Regions from separate parts of the Homo sapiens genome. Here regions 1 and 3 are each linked to region 2. The links are contacts of gene promoters, found by promoter capture Hi-C in blood cells and fetal thymus (Javierre and others, 2016). All regions are on one chromosome and are shown on one strand. Each heading gives the region's core, a stretch centred on a gene start or on the middle of the fragment in contact. The rest is flanking DNA. Distances are from core to core; before and after follow the strand shown.

The links. The method cuts DNA at HindIII sites, captures the fragments that hold promoters and counts their contacts. A CHiCAGO score of 5 or more calls a contact.
Region 1: a contact is called between the fragment with the promoter of PRPH2 here and the fragment with the promoter of UBR2 in region 2, in 1 of 17 cell types (erythroblasts). The highest score is 5.1, in erythroblasts.
Region 3: a contact is called between a fragment that was not itself captured here and the fragment with the promoter of UBR2 in region 2, in 2 of 17 cell types (M1 macrophages and M0 macrophages). The highest score is 6.6, in M1 macrophages.

The regions. Positions count from the first base shown.
Region 1 is chr6:42,721,087-42,724,245 of GRCh38, forward strand. PRPH2 (peripherin 2) reads right to left here and starts at 1,511. Exons shown (of 3, transcript NM_000322.5): 1 at 668-1,511. The coding sequence starts at 1,248. The HindIII fragment of the contact is 19,648 bases long and covers 1-3,159 here.
Region 2 is chr6:42,562,239-42,565,411 of GRCh38, forward strand. It overlaps UBR2 (ubiquitin protein ligase E3 component n-recognin 2), which reads left to right and starts at 1,791. Exons shown (of 47, transcript NM_001363705.2): 1 at 1,791-2,159. The coding sequence starts at 2,082. RefSeq lists enhancers at 1,353-1,432, 1,503-2,022 and a silencer at 3,055-3,173. The HindIII fragment of the contact is 771 bases long and covers 1,108-1,878 here.
Region 3 is chr6:42,309,631-42,313,069 of GRCh38, forward strand. The region is part of intron 3 of TRERF1 (transcriptional regulating factor 1); the gene reads right to left. Among named protein-coding and RNA genes, the nearest start is that of MRPS10, 93 kb to the left of the region's middle. The HindIII fragment of the contact is 5,172 bases long and covers 1-3,439 here.

The sequences.
Region 1 (3,159 bases), core at 261-2,760, 160 kb after region 2:
TAGGAGGTGACTTCCAAAATTACCTATTCTATTCCAGTGCTCATTTAAAAGATGGGCAAGCCAAAGCGCAGAGTGACTAGTGACCTGCCCAAGGTCACAAGACCTTGAACAACAGAACCAAAACTTCACCCTAGATCTCATGACTTCCCCTTCCTATGCTCTTTCCAACATATCCAGACAAACATCTTGGGAATGGATGCTCAGGGTTGAAAGGTTGGAAAACAAGGGAACTAACTAGGAAATTTAAACTTCTGGGACTGAATCCATCTACTTTGAATGAATGGGACAAATAGCCAAATAGTACCTCAGTGTTTGTGATCTATGAATGACTTCCATCCCTCTGTATAAAGTGGACACACATTGCTGCCTGGCTCTTCATCCCAAGGGGCTCCTATCCAAACAGCTTATATAAATTGATACCTTCCTACCACCTTAGCCAATGTTAGGTTGAACCCTATGAAGTTGTCATTTTTTATGGGTCAAAGAGGTAGAATATTAGCAATTTCATATGGTTCCACCTGATACACCCTCACATACGCAGCAATAAGTTGTGCACCCGATGGAGAGGAAAAGGCACTGGGTGCGGGGAGAGGGGCTGGTCAGAGGCCTGAGCCTCAGTGTCCCCAATATATTCATAGCTCTGACCCCAGGACTGGAAGCCACTCACTCTTTGACTTCTTTGGAGGAAAAGTCCAGGTAGCGATTGCTGATCCACTGAATCTCAAACCAGTCCCGAAAACCGTTGTTGCCGCAGCATTTGAACTCGATCTGCAGCATGTCGATGGTCTTCTTCATGAAACACCTGCCAGGGGTGTCTGTGTCCCGGTAGTACTTCATGCCGTTCTTGAGCCCTTGGCCCAGGGTGTTCTCCAGCGAGCCCCGAAGCAGAAAGCAGCAGAGAGCCACAAGGAAGAGGATGATGTTGAAGAGAACACAGATAGCCAGGTACGGCTTCAGCCAGGGCTTCCATCTGGCATACTTGGCTGGGTCCAGGGCGTCGTAGCAGATCTTCCCAGCCAGCGAGTTGAAGACACAGGATAGCACCCCCATCCCTATCAATGAGTTGGGCACAAAATGGCTCTCAGAATTATTCATCACATCGCTCCTCTTTCGGAGTTCAATCTTCAGGAACAGTCCTAGGCTGAAGATGATGATGCCAGCCAACACGGAGAACCAGTTCATGAGCCAGAGCCCTTGGGCCAACTTGACCCGCTTCTTCTGGTCAAACTTGACTTTCAGTAGCGCCATGCTTGCCAAGTGTAGTCCGGGTTGCTTCCCACAGCACAGCTCCCACCCCAAACCTTAACGAGCCCAGAGGCGGAGACTTAGGGCCTTGGGAAAAGTGCAGATGGCCCAAGCTGTAGGGAGCTGCCCTGGGGGCTACCCATGTCGAGTCCCACTAGCCTGGGATCCCCGTGAATGCAGTAGTGGTGGCAGGGGTCTCGGAATCACAGCTTGAGCAGGGGATAGTCCTGGTCCTGGGCGTTGTTTCTTCAGCGCCCTTCCCAGCCAAGAAGGGGCAGCCTGAACGCTGCAGATTAAAAGTGGGATCCACAAGACATTTTGCTAATCTCTTTAGCCAGGTTCATCCCATTAGATAAAGCCATGCCACTCTCAAAACATGGTCAAAAGCAGCCTCCAGGTACATGCTGAACCAGAAAGCTCTGGGTACAGCTTGGAGAATCAGGAGCAAAGGGCAAGACTGGCCAGAAGAATGGGCTGTATCTGGATGTCTGGCTCAGACCGTGTTGCTCCCCAAAAGCATATTTCCAGGCCAATCTCCTTCAACATTTAAAACTTTCTGTAGGACAAATAAATTGTTATCCTCTCTGAGAAAAGAAATGACAGGGCCAGGCACAGTGGATCACGCCTATAATCCCAGCACTTTGGGAGACCAAGTTGGGTGGATCACTTGAGCCCAGGAGTTCAAGACCAGCCTGGGCTACATAGGAAGACCCCATCTCCACACACACACACACACACACAAAAAAAAAAAAAAAAAAATTAGCTGGGTATGGTGGCATGCACCTGTAGTTCTCCCAGCTACTCTGGAGGCTGAGGTGGCAAGATCACCTGAGCCTGGGGAGTTCAAGGCTGCACTGAGCCATGATCGTGCCACTGCACTCCAGCCTGGGTGACAGAGTGAGGCCCTGTCTCAAATTTTAAAAAGACAAAGAAAAGAAGAGAAGAAGGAAGGAAAGAAAGAAAGTGACAGATCGTGAGAAAACATTTGCAACTTGTAAAATTAAAAAGTAATATACAGTGGCCAGGCATGGTGGCTTATGCCTGTAATCCCAGTACTTTGGGAGGCCAAGGCAGGTGGATCGCTTGAGCCCAGGAGGTGGAGGTTGCACTGAACTGAGATCCCCACATTGCACTCCAGCCTGGGTGACAGTGAGACTCTGTCTGGAAAAAAAAAAAAAAGAATTAATATGCAAAAATGTTTTAAGTCTCACAAATTCACAATAAACAAAAATTCACAATCAAAAGACCAATAATCAACTGGAAAAATAGGCAAAAACCAGGAACAGACAATTCATAATTAGGAAACTTGAAAAGTCCAATAATCTGGAAAAGATCTCAACTTGGGTAATAAGCAGGAAAATGCAAATCCAAACAACAATAAAATACCAAACTTGGCCGGGCACAGTGGTTCACACCTGTAATCCCAGCAGTTTGGAAGGCCAAGGTGGGTGGATCACTTGAGGTCAGGCATTCAAGACCAGCCTGGCCAACATGGTGAAACCCTGTCTCTACTAAAAATACAAAAATTGTCTGGGTATGGTGACAGGCACCTGTAATCCCAGTTACTTGTGAGGCTGAGGAAGGAGCATCAATTGAACCCGGGAAGTGGAGGTTGCAGTGAGCCAAGATTGCGCCATTGCACTCCAGCCTGGGTGACAAGAGTGAAATGACGTCTCAAAAAAAGAAAAAGACCAAACTCGATCCATCAAATTGAATGTATGTCAAAATTCTGTCACCATACATCAACAAAGAGAGTGGAAGTAGAAGTGTACACTCTTGGTGAATCTGTACATTTATTATTATTATTAATTAATGGATTATTTCTTACAGTAGTTTTAGGTTTACAAAAAAATTGAACAGAAAATACAGGGAGTTCCCATTATTCTCCATCTCCCCAACCAGTTTCTCCTCTAA
Region 2 (3,173 bases), core at 541-3,040:
GTATTACAGGTGTGAGCCACAATGCTCGGCCTGAAACAAATAATGTTAGGAAGCAAATAATGTTAAGAACAGAAATTGCCTTTACAGTCTATTAACGACTTAAATTCTATGTTAGGACAGCTCAAGAGATGTTGTTTTTGCTTCTAGGCTGGGACAATCCCAGTTTTCTTCCAAGTTGACTCTGTCCTGAGTGGATCAGTGTAAGGAAGTTGGGCAAAAAAAGAAAAATACATAGAAGAATATTTCAAGATATCTCATTATAAATATCTGTACAGATATGTGCATACTTTTTTCTGGACAGACTCATAAGACAGTGTCAAAAATGATTTTCTTTGGGGAGAGGGACTTGGGGTAAGAGGAATAGGAAGTTTTCAATTTTCCTTTTTTAAAACATTCCTTTCGAGTTTGAATTTCTGATGTTTTATATGTATATATATATATAACTTTTAAAAAGTGATAAGAAGGCTTACTTGTATTGTGAGGTTACAGGGATACAGGCAGTTTCTTATTTCCTTTTTTAAAAAACTGGTTAATATCATAGTATTGGTTTAAAAAAAATCCCAAAACAACATAAACATAAACATGTCCTAAACCTGGTCTGGCTCAGAACTTTTCCCCCCTATATGTAATTTACAACCTACTTCTGGGAATAAATTAACACACTTGACAAAAGGTATAAACAATTTTCTGACAAACTCTAGAGACTGAAGACTTCTAAGAAGCCCAGTCACCCAGCTGTCAGTCAAGAGTCTAATTACCTTTAACTAAACATAGTTTTCTTTGATAGCTAGTCTAACAATGTTTACCTATTTCTTTTTTTTTTTTTTCCTTCTTTTTTGATACAGGGTCTCAGCTGTGTCACGCAGGCTGGAGTGCAGTGGGCTGATCACAGCTCACGATGGCCTCAACTGCCTGGGCTCAAGCAATCCTCCTGCCTCAGCTTCCCGAGTAGCTGGGACTACAGGCGTGCCACCACACCTGGCTAATTTTTTGATTTTTATCAAGAGGGTCTCGCTATGTTGTCCAAACTGGTCTCAAACTCCTGGGCTCAAGTAGTCTGCCCCCCTCGGCCTCCCAAAGTGCTGGAATTACAGGCATGAGCCACCAAGCTTGGTCTGATTATCTGTAGAAATTAAATGTCTCTATCAAGAGGAAATCTTTTAATTGGCCTAATAGACTCTTTTTCCTTTGCAGCAAGATTTGTGATAAAGTTTATAAGTGGTCATCACTAAAGTTTTTGAAAAATTTTTTAAAACATGTTTTAAACCTTCAAAAAAGTGGGTAATGTTCACCTCCATTACTCGTATAAAAGATATGGGTTCGATGGATGACAGGACATAGAACCACAGGAATAGAATGTAATTCATTCATTCCTTTGACAAGTATTTGAGTGCCTACCCTATGCCAGACTGGCAAGTCCTTGAGGGTCTACCATGTGCCAGGCAGTGTTCTTGAAGCTGGGGATACAAAAATGAACAAACGAGATTCGGAGAATAAAACTACAGTTCCCACAGTATCTTTCTCTTTGGCTTTTTTCCAGGGGGCGCTGCTTTCCGCGACTGTCTTCCCATGATTCTCGTTGGGCAGAAAAGCCCCGCCCGCTTATCTGCCATTTAAGCCAGCGCCCCTTGAGAATGGACTACAACTCCCACAATGCATTCGAGGGGCACCGTGTTAGGGCGCCACCTTTTTCCCGGCTGTGCTGTACCTACAGCACCCAGAACTACAGTACCCAGAAAGCTCCGCTTCCCCTCCTGGGTGTTATTGCCCCTTTCCTGGTGCAGGACGCGGTAGTGGCCAGCGAGAGTGTCAGGCCTGGGGTTTTCTGTGTCCTTCCCTGGGTCAGGGACGAGCCAGTGACTTGACTCTTGGGCGCTAAGCTTGGGAGGGAGCGCAGGAGGCCGCTGTCCTTCCTTTCCGGTTCACGTCACCCTTCTCTCCCTCTGTTGCTCCACCTGCAGCCACTTGGACGGCTCCGGGACTGATTGCCTGGGGCAGGGGTGGCAGTCGAGGCCGCCGGGGCCGAGGTGAGGCTGCAGCTCTCCGGGCGGCGGTAGCGCTGGGGAGGAGGAGGAGAGAAGATGGCGTCGGAGCTAGAGCCAGAGGTGCAGGCCATCGACCGGAGCTTGCTGGAATGTTCGGCCGAGGAGATTGCGGGGGTGAGTGCCGGAACCCGGGCGGGTGCGTCTGCCCCTCGCAGGCCGCGCCTGTGGGGAGGAACCGACTCCTGGACGTCCTGGAGCAGCCCGACCCAGACTTGGGGAAACAGCTGTGCCGGCCCTCGCCTTGTGGGGTAATAGCCCGGGGAGGCCACCGATCCTGCCCCTCTCTTTCCATTTTCAACAGCTGCCAGAGCTGCGCTGTGCACTAACTACGTTTACTTTCCCTTTCTGCCCAGGAGAACCCACGGCTCTTCCATCATACCTCCTTTCCCCCAGCCTCCCATTAAGTCTCCCAACACATGGGCCTTTGCCCTTTATATCAGCTCTTGGAAGAGGAGAAGAGACGCTTCTTGTGTTTTTGGTATAATCGCCCTAGTTTATCTAGTTAATTGCTTTTCCTGAGACAAGCGAAGCCGTGTGCTCCTCCGACTAAACATGCCACCCTAACCGAGCCCCTCTTTTGTTTTTGGGACTGCCCCAGGCACCAAGAAGGCAAACGACACTACCCTTCGTTATCCGTTTCAGTGCTATCTTTTTTTTTTGCACCGGTTTGATTAGTTGACAACGTTGATGCATGTGTGGAAAGTTTACTGAGTATGAGAAAGTAGTCGTGGAGTCTGGGAAATTTTAAAAATATTTTTTCTAGGAGTTAGGGGTAATTGGATGGAGAACAAATGTTATATAACGTTGATAGAGCAGCTTTCAACAAATACTGTATAAGCTAAACGTGAGAACTGGTCACAGTGTAGTAGGAGCAGTTATATTCCAAACGTAAAACCGTTCAAACGCACTATTGCATTAAAACTGTAATATGAATATGCTAGTGTAAATAGCAGAGTTGTAGGAACACCCATTAGAAGAGATTGCCGAGAATGATTATGAATGGACCAAGACAGCTTGGGCCCCACCTCTAAGACCTCCAATTAAAAAGGCTGCTAGGAAGGGAGTGACCCGTGAATAAAAGTCAGCAATCTGAATGCTACGAACAAAATTTGGGATTGGGGGCACTGT
Region 3 (3,439 bases), core at 742-3,241, 250 kb before region 2:
TGCTATCCCCAGATAATTCATATGCACATTGAAGTGTGAGCAGCACTGGCCTTTGTAGAGCTGTGCTGTCCAATATGGCAGCTACTAGCCGTAAGTGGATATTTAAATGAATATTAATTTAAAATAAAATAAACTTAAAAATTTACTTTATTTTATTATTTTGTTTTATTTATTGAGACAGGGTCTCACTCTGTCACCCAGGCTGGAGTGCAGTGGCATGATCAGGGCTCACTGCAGCCTCAACCTCCTGGGCTCAAGTGATCCTCCCGCCTCAACCTGGGACTACAAACATGCGCCACCAGGGGTCTCCTTTAGCAGAGACAGGTTTCTGCCATGTTGCCCAGGCTAGTCTCCAACTCCTAGGCTGAAGCAATCTGCCTGTCTTGCCTCCCAAAGTGCTGGGATTACAAGCATAAGCCCCCGCACCCAGCCTAAAATTAAACTTAACTCAGCTTTTCAGTTGCACTAACTACTTTTCTTTTCTTTTTTAAGAAACGGGGCCTCACTCTGTCACCCAGGCTGGAGTGCAGTGGCTTGCTCACAGCTCACTGCAGCCTCTAACTTCTGGGCTCAGGCAATCCTCCTGCCTCGGCCTCCCAAAGTGCTAGGAGTATAGGCATGAGCCACCACGCCCCGGCCTACACATTTTAAGATGCTCAATAGCCACATGTGGCTAGTAGCTACCATATTAGACAGCACCAAATAGAACATTTCCCTCAATGCAGAGTCCTATTGGACAGGGCTCTCAGAGCAGCGTAGCTCAACCTTGGCATTTGTGACACTGTGGGTTGGATAATTCTTTGTTGTTGGTGGGGCTTTCTGTACATGGTGGAGCAGTAGTTCTCAACAGGGAGTGATTTTACTCCTCGAGGGATACTTGGCAATGTCCAGAGACATTGTTGGTTGTCACAGTTGGGGGAGTTCTTCTAGTATCTAATGGGTAGAGGCCACGGATGCTGCTAAACACCCTGGAAGGCATGGGACAGCCCCCAGCAAAGGACGATCTGGTCTAAAACGTTAGTAGGAGAAACCCTGCTCTAGTGTAATCAAGAGAACACTGCCAGTCTCAGCAGAACTGGTAGCAGGAGGCTAAGGAGGCCAAAGAGTACCCACCCCCAACCATTTGTCAAGCCCCAAGAAGCCTTCAGAACTCTGAGAAGCTACTCTCCAAGAAAGCAGGTGTCTATTTTTGCCAAAAATGCAGAACAAGAAGTTCTGGTTTCCAGAATAATCTATAAACTCATTACTAAAATGAAGTGCCTGCATTTCCAATCCCAAGGGCAAGGCAAGGAAGAAATTCCTTTTTGGCGTTGATGTTTGGAATGTGTGATAAATTCTGCATGTAAACCACAATCTGCTGTTGGTTAGGTGTAGAGATATATCACTCATTCAGTTGTGCATTCATCTATTTATTTATAAATATTTATTGAGCACCTACTATATGTTGGGTACTCTTCTAGTGTTGGAAACACAGCAGGAAACAAATAAAAGGTCCCTGCCTTTGTGGAGCAGATAGTCTAGTGGAGGAGAATAACAATATACAAGTAAGCAGGCATGTGTGCAATGTCATGGCAGGTATGATGAATGTTATGAAGGGAAATAAAGCAGGGTAAGGGTCAGAGGAGTGATGAACATGGGTGGCGCCTATTCATGGTCACCTGAAAAGGTGACATCTGGGCATAGGCCTAAATGAACTGGCTGAACCAGGTGACTCAGGGAAGGAAGAGAGTCCCAGGCAGAGGACACAGCAGCTGTGTCCTTCCACTCTTTGGTGGAATGAACTTGGTGGAGGGAGCCGGCAGGTGCGGTCAGCAAGGCAGGAGGCCAGGCTGTAGGCATGAGATCATGGAGGGGCCGGGCGCGGTGGCTCACTCCTGTAATCCCAGCACTTTGGGAGGCCGAGGTGGGTGGATCACAAGGTCAGGAGATCGAGACCATCCTGGCTAACATGATGAAACCCCGTCTCTACTAAAAATACAAAAAAAATTAGCCGGGCGTTGTGGCGGGCGTCTGTAGTCCTAGCTACTCGGGAGGCTGAGACAGGAGAATGGCGTGAACCTGGGAGGCAGAGGTTGCAGTGAGCCAAGATCGTGCCACTGCACTCCAGCCTGGGCAACTGAGCAAGACTCCGTCTCAAAAAAAAAAAAAAAAAAAAAAAAAGAGATCATGGAGGGTTGTGAGCAGAGGAGAGATGGGGTCTGATTCACTTTTCACGTGGAGAACAAACTACAAGAGGACAAGAGTGGAGAAAGCTGTTGTCGTCTTCCAAGTAAGAGAGGGTGCTGGCTTATTAATAATTCATTAATTAAACCATCAACATTAATACAAATTATCTATTGGGCCAATGCTATTACTCTTTTATTTCAGACATATCATGGGGAGACCAGGCATCGCATTCCAGCTACTTCTACAGAAAAATGCATTCTGAGTTCCATGATCAACTTGAAACCTTTTCCATCCACCTTGGTTTTAAGCTGGGTACTGTGTGGTTGGATAGAAGACAGCAGGAAAGGGAGTCAGGGATGAGGGCAGATTAACAGGAGGAAAAAAGGGCATCTCCCCTCATCATGCCCTTTTCCCCAGAGCCACCAGAGAAGAGCAGTCTGAATGGAACCTTCCTATCATACTCCTTCCAAGGTTTGTTGGGCAGCAGATAGATGAGCCCCAGCTGTTCTGCTCCAGGCTGGCTCTCCCAGAAGGATGGCACTGCAGCTGTGTCCAAAAGAGAGCTACGGAGTCTTTCTCAGAAGCGGGGAGCCCCTACTTTAGAGTTTCCGAAGATTCAAGGCAGCACTGGATCACGGAGTCAGTAGAAGTGGGGCAGAAGAATCCCCCTGTGCCGCTTACAAAACGCACAACAGGCATGTCAGCCAATCTCTCTGATCCTCGGCATTCCCCTCTGTAAAATGGAAACAACCTCCTTGGCCTCTCAGAGTGGTTATGATGGGTCAAAGCAGACAATGCTGGCGCTGGGTGTGCCGAGGTCTGGGCATCTGCACCTTCGGGAGCAGATACAGATGCTCCATCCTCCACGGGCATATGGATTTGTGCTGTACTCACATCCAGGTAATTTGGCTTTACCCATGGAAAGGGGCTTCCCTTTCATTAATTCATCGACTCCACACACATGCACTGGGTCTTAGTGCCGGGTGTGGTGTTTGGAAGAACAGTCAGAGGCAGCCCCCACTCTCCAGGAACACAAGGGCAGAGTGGGAGACAGACACGAAATAGGTTCTACCAATGTTCCTTCTCCTTCAGTGCCTGGTTGCCCAAATAGTTTTCTTGCCTTCAGACTAGAGCCACCAGCCTTTTGGGGCCTACAGATTCCCCTCATCTACCCATAGCTTGCAGCCTCGACCCTGGGGCAGTGCCCTCTGCTCATTTCCAGACTGGGAAGCAGGCCTGATTGTTTCTGCTGAAGCAGGAAAAGATGGTGAGA